5 separate regions of the Homo sapiens genome follow, and all the other regions are linked to region 2. The links are contacts of gene promoters, found by promoter capture Hi-C in blood cells and fetal thymus (Javierre and others, 2016). All regions are on one chromosome and are shown on one strand. The core of a region is centred on a gene start or on the middle of the fragment in contact, and the rest is flanking DNA. Distances in the headings are between cores, read along the strand shown. Region 1 overlaps PLEKHA1 (pleckstrin homology domain containing A1). Region 2 holds the start of C10orf88 (chromosome 10 open reading frame 88). Region 3 overlaps PLEKHA1 (pleckstrin homology domain containing A1). Region 4 overlaps PLEKHA1 (pleckstrin homology domain containing A1). Region 5 overlaps LINC02641 (long intergenic non-protein coding RNA 2641).

Region 1 (2,700 bases), core at 20-2,519, 570 kb before region 2:
TTATTAAGGATGAGAATGCTATTGCATATGTCATCAGGTTATTCAGCAGTCCAAGCTTACTGAGAACAAACACAAGAGTTTTAATGAGTTTTAATTTTCACTATTCACTGCCTTTAACTGTATTTTGTAGGCTCTTTCCCACCCCCCTGTCCCCCACCCCCCATAACATCATGGGTAAATGATAGCTTTTCTGTCATTTACAGTTATCAAAAAGCTCTAGGCTGGGCTCAGTGGCTCATGCCTGTAATCCCAGCACTTCAGAAAGCCGAGGTGGGAGGATAGCTTGAGCCCAGGAGTTTGAGACCAGCCTGGGCAACATGACGAAACCTTGTCTCTACAGAAAATAGAAAAATCAGCCGGGCGTGGTGGCATGTGCCTGTAGTCCCAGCTAGTTGGGAGGCTGTTGTAGGAGGATCCCTTGAGCCTGGGAGGCAGAGGTTCCAGTGAACAGAGACTGTGCTGTGGCACTCCAGCCTGGGTGACAGGAGAGTGAGACCCTGTCTCCAAAAAAAAAAAAAAAACAGAAAAACAAAAACAAAAAATTGCAGTCTATTCCAGTTTGAACATTCAATCTCATATATATTCAATTTAAAGGTTTTTTTTCCCTTCCTTACCCTGTGGTCAGGCCACTTACTTACTGAAGCACTTGGGGTATGGACGGCTTGTGGTAAGCTCCTGGGATACTTCTTTCCTTTCCCTCTTAAGGGATCTATTTGGATACAAATGTGTCAAGAAGAGAAGTAGAAAAAGACAAGTGTTTGTTATCTGGTGCTATTAGAGTCCTCTCTTGATTAACAGTGGCAGGCCATTGCAGTCTACTAATAGGCAACCAAACTGGCATTTTTGGTGAGATCTTGCAGGGAGACTCCTGCTGCACAGTTTCTGGGTATGAAATTTTCTGTAGCTAAACCTTTTCCAACCTACACACCCATCTGCTTGCTCCCATCCTGTCAGTTTACCCACTGGTTACGTGAATGTGTGTGAGTCGGGGTGGAGATCTTTTCTCTCTGCAGCGAGATATTTTGATAATGGCAAAACAACTTCAATCCAGGTACGCTGTGGTTTCTATTCAACCCACTGGAAACTCACTTCCTTGTGATGTCGAATAGTGGCATACAGACTACTTAAGTCTGCCTTCTTTCTGTGCCCTGCCATTTCTCATCAATTCTCTTTGTCCCCCTTTTCAAGTAGACACATGGGGTCAGTCACTCAGTCTGCTGCATAAGCAGATGTGGAACTGGAGAATGGGATGCAAGTCTGTTCTAGGCTCCTCTGATCTTCATGAGTGATTTCTGTTAGAGGCCCCTGCCACTGTTTTGGTGAAGACCTCCTTCTTTTCCCTGCGTTCTCCCTGAAGACTTACAGTTCTTTCCCTCTCTTCTGTCAACTGCTCTTGCAGAGTGGAAGGATGGTGCTGATTAGGGTGCCAGAGCCATGCCTGACTCTACAGATATTTGATCCTCTATGTCTATATATCCTCAGCTTTGTGTTTGTCAGTGATTGTGGGGCAACAGGACTAGTCCCACTCGACATGTTTTAACAAATAATAGTGAAGTCTTGTGGGCCTGTTGAGGTCTCACTGTACAGAATTTAATTTTTCTTTGCTTTTTCTTATATCACTCAGGCTGTTTCTGTGTTTTGCCTTATTTTTTGGCTTCCTGGTTCCTGACTGATGAGGTGTTAACTGTAATTATGTTAATTTATGACTGATTTGTAAGATCTAACTATACCTTAGAGTATGAGTAAAGCTGAAGGAGAAATTTGGGTTGGGAGGCATGTTAATAATATAATTGTGTCTGGTTTTGCCTCATGTAAGTTTCACTAAAAATATAAATTTAAGTGGAAATACAGTATTTGAAACTTTTTCCTTCCATTATTTAAATAAATCAGTTAAATCTGGTAAATGATTCTTGTCTGATGAGGAAGAAACAACTTTCTATCTGGAAACTTAACGTTAATCTTTGATGCAGTAATTATGGGTTACTTCATCCGTCGTTCAACAAATAGTTACTGAGGGTCTTGCATGTGACAGCCACTGTGTTAGGCATTGGAGAAACAACAGTAAATAACAAATCCCTGCTGTCATGGAGCCTACATTACAGTGTGGGGAAACAGACAAGAATCAGGTAAATAAGTAAACTGTATCATTCATTAGATAATCAATAAATGCTAAGGAGAAGAATAACATGGGGAACCAAGGTGGAAGTAGCAAAACGGTTTGGAGGATTTGCAATTTTAGATAAGATCTAAAAGGCAGTGTTCACTGAGAACGTGACTTTGAGTTACAAGTCCCCGAGTGGGAATCTTGTCTGGTGAGTCCAGCGGCCAAATGAATGAGTAAGGTGGGTATTGGGATGGGGTAACAGGGCAGACGAGGCTTAGTGGTCTTTATGAGGGCTTTGGTTTTTAGGTTTTTACTTTGAGTGAGATGGGATCCCATTGAAACAGGTTGTCAACCTTGGCCGAACATTAGAATGATTGGGGAAGCTTTAAAAAAGTACTGATGCCTGGATCCCATCCCAGAATTTCTGATTTAATTGGTCGGCGGTGGTGGGGGAGGTGGTGTTTTAACGTAGGCATCAGGAATTTTTAAAATTCCCAGGTAATTCTGATAAGTGGCCAAGGTTGACATCTATTGCACTGAAGAGTTTTGAGCAGAGTGAGGTATTACATAGTATTGAGGAGTGTGACTCTAGAGCC
Region 2 (2,700 bases), core at 147-2,646:
GTCATCCAGGACAGTACAAACATTCTTGCCCCTACTGGTTCCACAGTACTCCTCTCCTAAGTACACTTCCATATTTCTTGCTGAACTTAAAATGCCAATAGAAGCGATTTCTTCACCTCCATCAGGGCCACACCTCAGGTAAAGGAAGCAGGGGTTTTCATCTTTGTTGTTGTGGTTTCTCTTCAAAATCACCAGATCCTGACTGAGAAGAAAATTGGTGAAAACATCACACAGTATAGTTCTCTGAACATGACTCTTCTTTTTTGAGACGGAGTCTGGCTCTGTCGCCCAGGCTGGAATGCAGTGGCTCCATCTCGGCTCACTGCACGCTCCGCCTTCCGGGTTCACGCCATTCTCCTGCCTCAGCCTCCCAAGCAGCTGGGACTACAGGCACCCGCCACCGCGCCCGGCTAATTTTTTGTATTTTTCGTAGAGACGGGGTTTCGCCGTGTTAGCCAGGATGGTCTTGATCTCCTGACGTCGTGATCCGCCCGCCTCGGCCTCCCAAAGTGCTGGGATTACAGGTGTGAGCCACCGTGCCCGGCCGGGGCTTCTTTCTTCTAACTCACTTCCACTTGCCCTTGAGGTCCAAGCACCTTCCCAAGCATCCAAGAAGCGCTCAACACAGAATTCATACGGAAATGAAGGTGTCACACATCAGGGCTTTCCCAAACTCTATTTTTTCCTCAATCAACATTCTACTCAATCCCCTGCAATTGACTCTCGGATAATTACATAAATCACTGGGCACCTACTGGGTGCAGGGCACAATGAAAGACAAAAGTGTATCTTTTTCGAAATTAAGTCGACAGCGATCATCTATAGCTGGACTTTTTACACAGCCTGTTTTGGTGGACAGGAGGTGTCTTGTTTGAGGGTAGAGGGGCGGACTGACTTTGACAGCAGCCCTGAGGGGCTATCACGCCTGATGGGGACGTTATATGAAATTCCGAGTCCGGGTCACCTTCCCCCTCTCACGCCCAGGAGCCTCGGCCCCTTCCCGGCCGGACCCACCCCCCTCCGCCCACCCCGGACGACCTCGCAGCTCCCCTCCCCAACTAGAGACCTGGTACCAACTGCTCTCCCGGATCCCGGGCTCAGACCCTCTCGCCTCCCCTCACAGCTCCCCTAGAAGCGCGGCAGTTGCCGAGCATAGCGACCCCGTCCCCGTCGGCCCGGCGCACCCTGGAGCAGGCGGTGCCAGCAGCTCCTCCCAGTCGAAGTCACCGGGGCCGAGACCGGCCCGGGTGAGGAGGAGGCTGTGGGTCAGGGCCCCGCCTGCAACATCCCAAGAAGAGGCCAGCGTGGGGCGGCGGGTGAGGCCCCCGTCCTCGGTCCGCGTCTCCATTCCGCCGCCTTCAGTCAGGCCAGCCCAGCCCCGGAACCTCTCTTCCAGTGCTTGAATTTCCGCCGGTACAGCGTGGAAATGGGCAGGCAAAGCGACTTCCGGCTCACTCCGCTTCAAGTACCCGCCGCTTCTTGCTTTGGTGGGGAGAGCAGGCACCAGAGACACGCATGCGCATGTGCCAGCTGGCCTCAGGCGCGGCGTTCAAAGTGTGCGGGGAGGAGGTCGAGAGCGGAGCATGCGCACTGGCAGACCCTTGCTCTTTCGCTGGAGACTATGCGCAGGCGCGGTGCACTGCGCGCCGGCACGAGGGTGTTTTCGACGTTGGCTGTGGGGAAACAGCAAGCGGCGTGGACGACCGTTGCTGAGCTGGTGTGGAACGTCTGTGATCAGGTAGGTGTAGTCTCGTCGCTCTACGCTGCGTGCAAGACCGACTCCTGACCTCGTTCTTTCCCAAGGGGACGCCAGGGCCTTTTCTGCTTCCATTCCGTCGGATCTGCAGCATTTGTGGCAGCTAGCGCGGCGGACGCGCTGCCGATTCGGGTTATTTTTACTTCGAATTCTCCTAGCCTCCCTCACACATATTCTCGCTTTAGAGGGGGGCTGAAGCGGATGATGGGGTTTTGGGGTTGAAGGGCATCTGTGATGGGCATTGAGCCACGCTGGCCTTCGCCGGGTGCTGTCTCAGCTGACGCCCCCTGACCCCATGTGCAACCCTCAGGCCGCAGGAACCCGGGCATCCAGGGCTGGACGCTCTAGGTGACAGAAATTTGAAATGCAAGAAAGACCCAGACACCGAAGGCAGGGGCTGCCCCATGAGATCGCTCCTCATGGCACTGGAAACAGCGAGTGGAAAGGGGGGGTCTCAGAACTCTGTTGAAGTAGAATATGAACTCAGTCTTGAAGGAACTTAAGGCTACGGATGCAGAACAGTGGGAGCAGATGGAACTTTCTAGATGCCCCACGGGATGGGACTGTATATAGTGTGCCCCCTCATCCTCCTCCTGTAGAGGCTTGTGCAGATTATTTTTCTGTCTTTTGAAAAAAGCAAACTCTGAAATTCCACTTGTCTATAATCTAGAGTTCCAAAGTTGTGTTTAAGGTGGTATCCTCTCTAGGAAATAACGTTTTTGCTCACCCATACTCTAATTTTCTTTCAGAGCTGTCTATTCTGGGTTCATGACTCAGTGCGCATTACTTTAATCTTTTTGCTTATGTTTTCGTTTGAGTTTATGTACTAGGACTTGTGCCCTCTAGCTAAAAATGAGAATAAACTTTGCATTCTGTTTACCTGTGTCAAAGCAAGAAAAATGATGACCAAATGTATTTTTCTATAAGTAATCACCAGAATGTAC
Region 3 (2,700 bases), core at 21-2,520, 560 kb before region 2:
TTTCCCTTTTTTTCTTAAATGTTCTATTAGTTTGTTATTTCTTGTTCATTGTCAAGTAACAAATTTTGAATCTCATTTTTTTCCAGTCGAACCTGATGGTAATCATACTAGTCCACAGAAACTGCGTATTTTGAATATTGTTTTTCTCTCAGCTACTTAAATTTCCCCATAGTGTACTACTATTACTGTGACACTTTATGTCATGCTTTGGTTTCTCATTTGTCTTCCTTCCACAAAGGCTTAGAGCTCTATTCAGCAGTTAAAATAATAGGCTCATGAAAAACTGAAAAGAAATAAATTATTACCCTTAAATGGAAGGGTAACAGTTTTTGAAAAAATCACTTTGGTGGTAGTTAGAGATTCTTGAAGACATATTTACATTTCTTTTCCTTCTTTAAAGTTAAAAACCAAAAACCCATAAATCTAAAACGTTATACATAAGAATACAAATAGCTTTTTAATGTTATACATTAATGAATTATAATTTTATTTTATATGCATATTTACTATTGATGATTTATATTTGGAAGCTTGTACGTAGTATATAGTTTAAAGCAGAACATAATTAATGGAGTTTTACAATATATAGGTGTGAAAGTTTTTAAAAGATCTGTCCCTGTCAACAATAAGCAGTTCATGTTTGGGACTCTTAAGTCTTTGAAATGTCTAGGCTTCCAGTTACCTCCTAATCATTCATTAGAACAAGCCAATAGATTTTTATATTTTTAAGTACGTTATTATAAAGTCAGTTGAAAAGTTGATCCTGTCTTATCTCCAGCAGAAATAATTTTCAAAATCAACTAAAACTAATGTTTTCATTTTTACTTCTGAAATCTTCTATCAGTCTTTTATCAGTCTTCTATCATAGAAATGAAATTTATATTCTTGATTTGTTTTCCCCAGATTCTTTTGTCTGGTTTTCCTACCTCTATCTTCCTCTTCTATAATCCCTTCAGTTTATTATAAGATATATTATAAAAAGAGCATAATTTTGATTCCAGATCTGCTCATAAGCCTTCTTCGTTGGCCTCAAATTCTCTACGATATAAATTCTTTGCTACTTTTTTATTTAGGTCCTCTATGATTAGGTTCTCAGTTCAAGTTTTCAGACCACCATTTTGTACTACAATCTTACAGGACACTGCATTACAGCCCCACATAGCCCCCCTCTCTCTTTCTAGTACAGAGCTGTGCATCTTCCATTGTTTGCTATAGTTTGTCCATTTTCTCTGCTTGGAATATTCTCCCCTGCTTTTTGTGTTTCAAAATTTTCCTTAACCTCCAGCCTAAATGTTGTTCATCACTTCAGTCTTTCTGGATAGCTTCAACCAGAGATGATTCTCCCTCTATGTTTACCTTTAGCTCTTTTGATGCAAACCACATCTGAAACTTACGGGAAGAATGAAAATACTGTGTGTGAAAGTGCCTACATTCCCTGCATATGATAAAGAGAAGCAAACATTTTTTTGTGGAAAAAAAAGTATCAATGTAGATTAATATGGCATAAAAAACAGTAAACCATTTAAATGGGGGGAAATGCAGTCCATTTTTGTCAAGAGATACTTGATAAAGAAATTTTAATAGAACAAAGTAATATGTATAGTCTTTTTAAGTATCTTACAATTATATTTGTTTTCTGCCTGTAAATATTTCCCCCTTGCTTTCAGGAACAAAATCTGATCTTGTTCATGGCTTTTTAAGCTCATGAGAAAGTATTAGTTTAGCTCCAGTGATAAAAATAGCCTTTTAGTCATAGAATGCATGATAATGGAACAGAGTAGGATTCAGTTTTGTTATCCAAGCTATGGACTTGATTTCAGACCTAGTAAAAATTTGAACAGAAGAAAAGTTCATTTGTAAAATGTGATATTAAAAAATTGAGTTTTTAACTTTTCAGAAGTATATGTGGAACATTATATTATAAAATGAATTCATAATATTGGATATTAAGTATATATTAATACTTTGTTTCTAGAACCTACCTTCTGGATCATCACGTGTTGGAGCCATTAAGCTTACCTACATTTCAAAGGTAGTCTTTATACATTGTCTTATACTCGTGTGAATTAAAATCCCTGTGAATGAGAGTATGAATAGAAGCAGCAGTTTCCTTTCCATGTCCTTTAACAGTGATGTTCAGATTCCTATCATACTGAAATGGTACCTGATTACTACGTTTAGGAAATTCTTTAAATCGATACAGTTATGAAGAATATGATTTTAACTTACAGGATGTGGCAAATTGCAAAAGTTAACATTAACTTTTATGATCAGGTATATGAACATCAGAAAGGGAGAAATCAGTGAAACAAATTCTATCTTGAGAAAGTCTGGAGATTTTTCTAAGTCTGTATTATGTTTATTTAGACTGTTTTCAACTTTTAAATCCCATTGTCTTTGATACTTTGTTTCTTAATGTTTTATTTTGAGGAAAATATGGACCATTTTCATGTTGAAAGGATGATTTTCCCCCTCTTTTCACTTTGTCTCTTTTCATTTCTGTTTTCTTATTTGTTTTTCTGGTAATTTTGCAATACTATTTTTTATTTTTTAAAATTTTGATTTTATGTTTGTCAGGTACATTTTTTTCTTATTTTCTTCTATTAATGTTTAGGGAACTAAGTGATGCTGAGGTGCTAACCCTATGGGTTTGTGTGTGTGTGTGTGTGTGTGTGTGTGCATGTGTGTTACATAAAAGTA
Region 4 (2,700 bases), core at 48-2,547, 540 kb before region 2:
TTCTTCATGTACTTTTCACCTCAGAAATGGAGATATGAGTTGTATATTACATTTTGTAAACAGATTTTTTCACTTGTATCATGAACATTTTCCAAGTCATCAGAAATCCTTTTATATCATTTTTAATGAGTGCATAGTAGTTCTTCCATGGATTTACCATAAATTACAAATCCTCTATTGGACAAATAGAGTTCCTTTTCCTTTTTGTTTCTTTTACTTTATAAACAATGCTATGATGAATATTCTTAAAGGAGAAATTCCTAGAAATAAAATTGCTGAGTCAAGAGTTTGCAAGTAGTAATTTTTAAAATCTATTTTTTCTACAACCTGGCCTAAGTGAGCTAAACAGAAGACTGGAATTTTAACTAAGTTATATCTCAGAAGTACTAATATGCTAAATTAAGTCTTTATTTGAGTTTTAGGAAAAATATAAATTTACATACAATTTTTGATGAAATTAAAACTCTTGTCTGAGCTTGAATTTCTTGTTTTGCTATTGAAAAGGATGAATTTGTAATGGATATTAAGTTACTAGTAGTTGAGAAACCAAGAATTTTAAAGTAATCAATTGGTATTGCCAAGCTTGGGTATTTTCATTACCAGTGTGCCTTTTGAACTCAAAAGACTTTGACACTTTATAAATCTTTTAAATCAAATTGTATCATTCCCCACATTTTTCAGGTCTTTTGCTACGGGAGGGTGATTAGTGGGATTAGAAATCTTACAACATTAATTAATTAATTAACTATTGAGTGCTTTCTTTATGCTTGGCAAAGGGTATGTTAATGAACAGAAATTCCCTGCTGTCATAGAGCATACATTTTCCACCAAAGTTGGATAAAAAAATAAGCTAGGATTGTGTGTTTACTTTTTCCAAAAGTAATGATTTTAAACTGTTAACCTTCTGGTTACTATGTACCTAGATTAAGCTTCTTTCACTGGTATTATGACCTATGTTGACATAAGGGGTAAGACTATTTTCCTGTAGTTGTGTTAAGACACTGTATTAGTTTGTATCTGTGGCTGTTTTAATTTTGTCTAGAGTTAAGATTTTGTTGCATTGTAATTTTGGTATAGATATTTCAGTAGTTTCTAGGATTTTATGGAGGGTATAATTTTATTGCATCATTTATTTTGTAGTATAGTTTTAAAAATTATAAAATAATATATGTCTATCATAAAAGGCAAAAATTGGTAAATTGGACCTCATCAAAATAAAAAATACTTGCTCTATGAAAGACCTTCTTAAGAGGATGAAAAGAAAAGCTACAAACTGGGAGAAAATATTTGCAAACCACATGTCCAACAAAGGACTTTTATCTAGAACATAGAAAGAACTCAGAACCCAACAGTAAAAAGCCCAAGAAATCCAATTAGAAAATTCATGAACAGATATTTCATCAAAAGATAAAAGATAAACAGATGGTAAGTAAGCACATGAAAAGATGTTCACCATCATTAGCTAGCAGGGAAAAAATACAAATTAAGAGCACAATAAAAGATCACTGCACACCTCTCAGAATGGCTGAAATAAAAGTGACGACACAAATGCTGCCAAGGTTGAGGAGAAACATAATCTCTCAGGTGTTGCTGGTGGGAATGAAAATTAGCCACTCTGAAAAACAGTTTAGTGTTTATGTTTTGTTTTTTTTTTAATAATAAAAGTAAGCTTGTGATTACTGTACAACCCAGCATTTGCAGGACTAGGTGTTTATCGTAGAGAAAGGGAAAATTACATTCACATAAAAACTTGTGCATGAATGTTGATAGCAGCTTTTTTCCTAATAGCTAAAAGTGGGAAACAACTCAAATGTCCTTTAATGGGTGAACAGTTAAACAACTGGTCATCCATCCATACCATGGAAATATAGCAATAAAAAGGAATGAACTCTAGATACAAGGAACAGTCTGGACGAATCTCTAGAGAATTATGCTGAGTGAAAAAAGATAATCTCAAAAGATAACCTTCTGTATGCTTCCATTTACATTACATTTTCAAAATGTCAAAATTATAGTCTTGGAGAACAGATTAGTGGCTGCCAGGGGATTTAGGGGTAGGAACTCTAAAGTTCACAAAGGAGCCTTGGGGTGATGACCAATTCTGGGTCTTAAATGTGGTAGTAGTTACACAGATCTACACATGTGATAAAACTGCATAGAACTGTATAGACACACATAGATGAATGTATGTAAAACTGGTGGAATCCGAATAAAGTTTGTGGGTTGTGCCAATGTCCATTTCTTGTTTTTTGATAATGTTACGCCGTTTCCCTTTGAGGGGAAACTAGTGAAAGGGTACATAGGACCTGTTGTACTTTTTTTGGGCAGCTTCTGGTGAATCCTTATAATTATTTCAAAATAAAAAGTTAACTCCTTCCCCAAAAAAGAGCACTGGTGGCAGGACTTGTGCAAAACAAGAGGAATGGAAATTTGTGCTTTAATCAGTGACAGGAAAATTAAGAGTAAGTATCTCAGATTAATTAGAAAACTCTTCAAAAATCTGTTTCTGACTAATCTAAGGTGGATTTTAAGATTTTCTACTGGGATAATATGAAATAAAAGTATGCTAAACAAGCAAGAAAATAATTTATTTATTTTGCTTCATTTTAGAAAGAAGAAGTAAATGAATGTGGTGAAAGTATTGACAGAAATAATCTGAAACGGTCACAAAGCCATCTTCCTTACTTTACTCCTAAACCA
Region 5 (2,700 bases), core at 106-2,605, 590 kb after region 2:
GTTATCATGCTGCTAACAAAGACACACCTGAGACTGGGTAATTTGTAAAGGAAAGACAGTTCCACATGGCTGGGGAGGCCTCACAATCATGGTGGAAGGTGAAGGAGGAGCAAAGTCACGTCTTACACGGTGTCAGGCAAAAGAGCATGTGCAGGGGAACTTCACTTTATAAAACCATCAGATCTCATGAGACTTACTTACTATCACAAGAACAGCACGGGAAAGATCCACCTTCATGATTCCATTAACTACTACTAAGAATTATGGGAGCTGTAATTCAAGATGAGATTTGGGTGGGGACACCAACAAATCATATCATTCTCTTTCTAAACTTAAATTTTTTTTTTTTTGCACATTAGTGTTTACATTACCTTGTTGGAGTGAGACTTGCCTGCATTTTATTTCTGATTCACTCTTTACTGATTTTAGCCTAGGCTCTGTTACTAACAGAATATGTGACTTTTGGCAAGTTAATACCTCTCTCTAGGCCTCACTCTTTGACATAGGAGATTATGTTAGTTTTCCAGGGCTGCCATACAAAACACCACAGGCTGGATGCCGTAGAAAAGAGATATTTATTTTCTCAGAGTTCTGAGTACTAGAATTCCAAGATCAAGGTGTCAGCAGGCTTGGTTTCTCCTAAGGTCTCTCTTCTTGGCTTGCAGAAGGCCATCTTCTTCCTGTATCCTTGCATGACCTTTTCTCAGTATGCATGCATCCCTCGTGTCTCTCCCTCTTATAAGAATATCAGTCCTAATGGGTTAGGGCCCCATCCTTATGACCTCACTTCACCTCAGTTTAATTTTCACCTCACCTTTAAAGATCCTGTCTCCAAATATAGTTATATTAGGGAGTAGGGCTTCAACATGTGAATGCTGAGGGGACACAATTCAGACTATAGCAGAGAGAATTAATTAGCCCTAGATCAGTGGTTCTTAAACTCCAGAATTCCCAGGCGGGATTCCCGGGCCCTGTCCCAAGTTTCTGATTCAGCTTTAGAATCGGGCTTTGGATTTTACATTTGTGGTGATTCCCAGATGATATTTATTCTGCTGGTCCAGAGAGCACACTTTGCAAAAACCACTTGTGCAGACCTTTAAGATAACTATAAACTGTGCAACAACAAACTTAAGACAGAGAGAACACACAATTTTAAAGGGCGCTTTTGGCAGTGCAAATGATGCAATGGTAAATTTTGCAAGTTGGGTTTTGATATGGTTTGGCTCTGTGTCCCCACCCAAATCTCATTTTGTAGCTCCCATAATTCCCATGTGTTGTGGGAGGAAACAGGTGGGAGATGATTGAATTATGGGGTGGGTCTTTCCTGTGCTGTTCTTGTGATAGTGAATGGGTCTCATGAGATCTGATGGTTTTAAAAACGGGAGCTGCCCTGTGCAAGCTCTCTCTTTTTTGCCTGCTGCCATCCACGTAAGATGGGACTTGCTCCTCCTTGCTTTCTGCCATGATTGTGAGGCCTCCCCAGCCATGCGGAACTGTAAGATTAAAAAAAAACTCTGTCTTTTGTAAATTGCAGTCTCGGGTATGTCTTTATCAGCAGCATAAAAATGGACTAATATAGGTTTATTAAAAATTAACAGATTTTTAAAAAGAAGGAGGTAGAAAACAATATGTCTTGAACATCTCAGGAATAATGTAAGTAGGCAAATCTACATAAATGGAACTCATCCTATTTCAACTCCAGGGTTTACATATTTTTAAAAGCTCCCTTAGAAACATGGCTCAGCAACCCTAACCACAGGGAAGGTAACCACTTCTCTGCTGGTTCCTAAATGATGCTTTCATAAGCACTGTTTACAGGGCAAGAAATACTCAGTCCTGACATTGGATTATTCTTCACAATTTATGTTGTTTGTCCAGAAATTTAACTCTTTTCACAATCAGCTTTCTCTGGACAAGGACACTGTATTCTTTTAACAGGATTTTTTTTTTTTTTTTTTTTACCTGTATGACACAGTATGCCAGATAAAGAAACCGTTTCTTTCAGGCTTTTAATCTCCTCCGAGAGCGAAAGTAGTATTTGCTGAAATAAAAATACACCTTGGCAGAAATGCGATGCTAATCCTCTTAGTTTTAATGGTTTGGAAATGGTTGGAGTAAGAAGGTAAACATTGTAGTTGATTAATAGGAAGGAAGTCAATTGTCCATGTAGCCACTGCTATATGCCATACTGTACAATACTGCTTTATTTTTATAAACCCCCAAACAAAGTCTCTCTCCATGTTAATGTTCTTACTTGAAAAGTGATCTACTTGCACCGTGCAGCTCCTAAGTGTTTGATTCCATTACCCCCAAAAGCAAGCAGTGCACATTTCAAATCGACGTCAAACAAATCCCACTGATAACGGGTGTCATATCAATGACTTATCAGGTCTTTTTTATTGAAAATAGTCGGATATAATGAGGTGCTTCACATTTAAAAGTCTTAAATCTTTGAAAGCTCCAAGCCTAGATGGTTTTGATACTAGCTTATTAAACTTGCCCTGGAAGAGAAAGCAGGAGTGGTTGGGGGTGGGTGTGAGCGAGAGTAAGAAAAACCCGGAGGAGGGGAGATGGAAGACTGAGCAGACTGACTTAACCCCACGTTGGCCATGGTGCAAAGATCATGTTTGCTGATAGCCGTTTCTACCAGCACCTCCCAGGGAGGACTCAGAAAAAGGAGGCTCAAAGTGCTTTTGAGCA

The links. Contacts are between HindIII fragments. The CHiCAGO score rates a contact against its expected background, and 5 or more counts as called.
Region 1: a fragment that was not itself captured here is called in contact with the fragment with the promoter of C10orf88 in region 2 in 1 of 17 cell types (total B cells); the score reaches 6.6 in total B cells.
Region 3: a contact is called between a fragment that was not itself captured here and the fragment with the promoter of C10orf88 in region 2, in 1 of 17 cell types (naive CD4 T cells). The highest score is 5.2, in naive CD4 T cells.
Region 4: a fragment that was not itself captured here is called in contact with the fragment with the promoter of C10orf88 in region 2 in 3 of 17 cell types (total B cells, naive CD4 T cells and total CD8 T cells); the score reaches 5.9 in total B cells.
Region 5: a fragment that was not itself captured here is called in contact with the fragment with the promoter of C10orf88 in region 2 in 1 of 17 cell types (total B cells); the score reaches 5.8 in total B cells.

What each region holds. Positions count from the first base shown.
Region 1 is chr10:122,378,235-122,380,934 of GRCh38, forward strand. The region is part of intron 1 of PLEKHA1 (pleckstrin homology domain containing A1); the gene reads left to right. Among named protein-coding and RNA genes, the nearest start is that of PLEKHA1, 4.9 kb to the left of the region's middle. The HindIII fragment of the contact is 2,432 bases long and covers 54-2,485 here.
Region 2 is chr10:122,952,831-122,955,530 of GRCh38, forward strand. C10orf88 (chromosome 10 open reading frame 88) reads right to left here and starts at 1,397. Exons shown (of 6, transcript NM_024942.4): 1 at 1,185-1,397; 2 at 1-202. The coding sequence starts at 1,348. It overlaps LOC124902519 (a long non-coding RNA gene), which reads left to right and starts at 1,612. Exons shown (of 2, transcript XR_007062325.1): 1 at 1,612-1,738. RefSeq lists a silencer at 1,113-1,192. The HindIII fragment of the contact is 5,860 bases long and covers 1-2,700 here.
Region 3 is chr10:122,395,943-122,398,642 of GRCh38, forward strand. It overlaps PLEKHA1 (pleckstrin homology domain containing A1), which reads left to right. Exons shown (of 12, transcript NM_001001974.4): 3 at 1,976-2,032. Among named protein-coding and RNA genes, the nearest start is that of MIR3941, 20 kb to the right of the region's middle. The HindIII fragment of the contact is 1,484 bases long and covers 529-2,012 here.
Region 4 is chr10:122,413,249-122,415,948 of GRCh38, forward strand. It overlaps PLEKHA1 (pleckstrin homology domain containing A1), which reads left to right. Exons shown (of 12, transcript NM_001001974.4): 7 at 2,611-2,700. Among named protein-coding and RNA genes, the nearest start is that of MIR3941, 2.4 kb to the right of the region's middle. The HindIII fragment of the contact is 740 bases long and covers 928-1,667 here.
Region 5 is chr10:123,545,078-123,547,777 of GRCh38, forward strand. The region is part of intron 9 of LINC02641 (long intergenic non-protein coding RNA 2641); the gene reads left to right. The region is part of intron 1 of LOC105378530 (a long non-coding RNA gene); the gene reads right to left. Among named protein-coding and RNA genes, the nearest start is that of GPR26, 120 kb to the right of the region's middle. The HindIII fragment of the contact is 5,244 bases long and covers 1-2,700 here.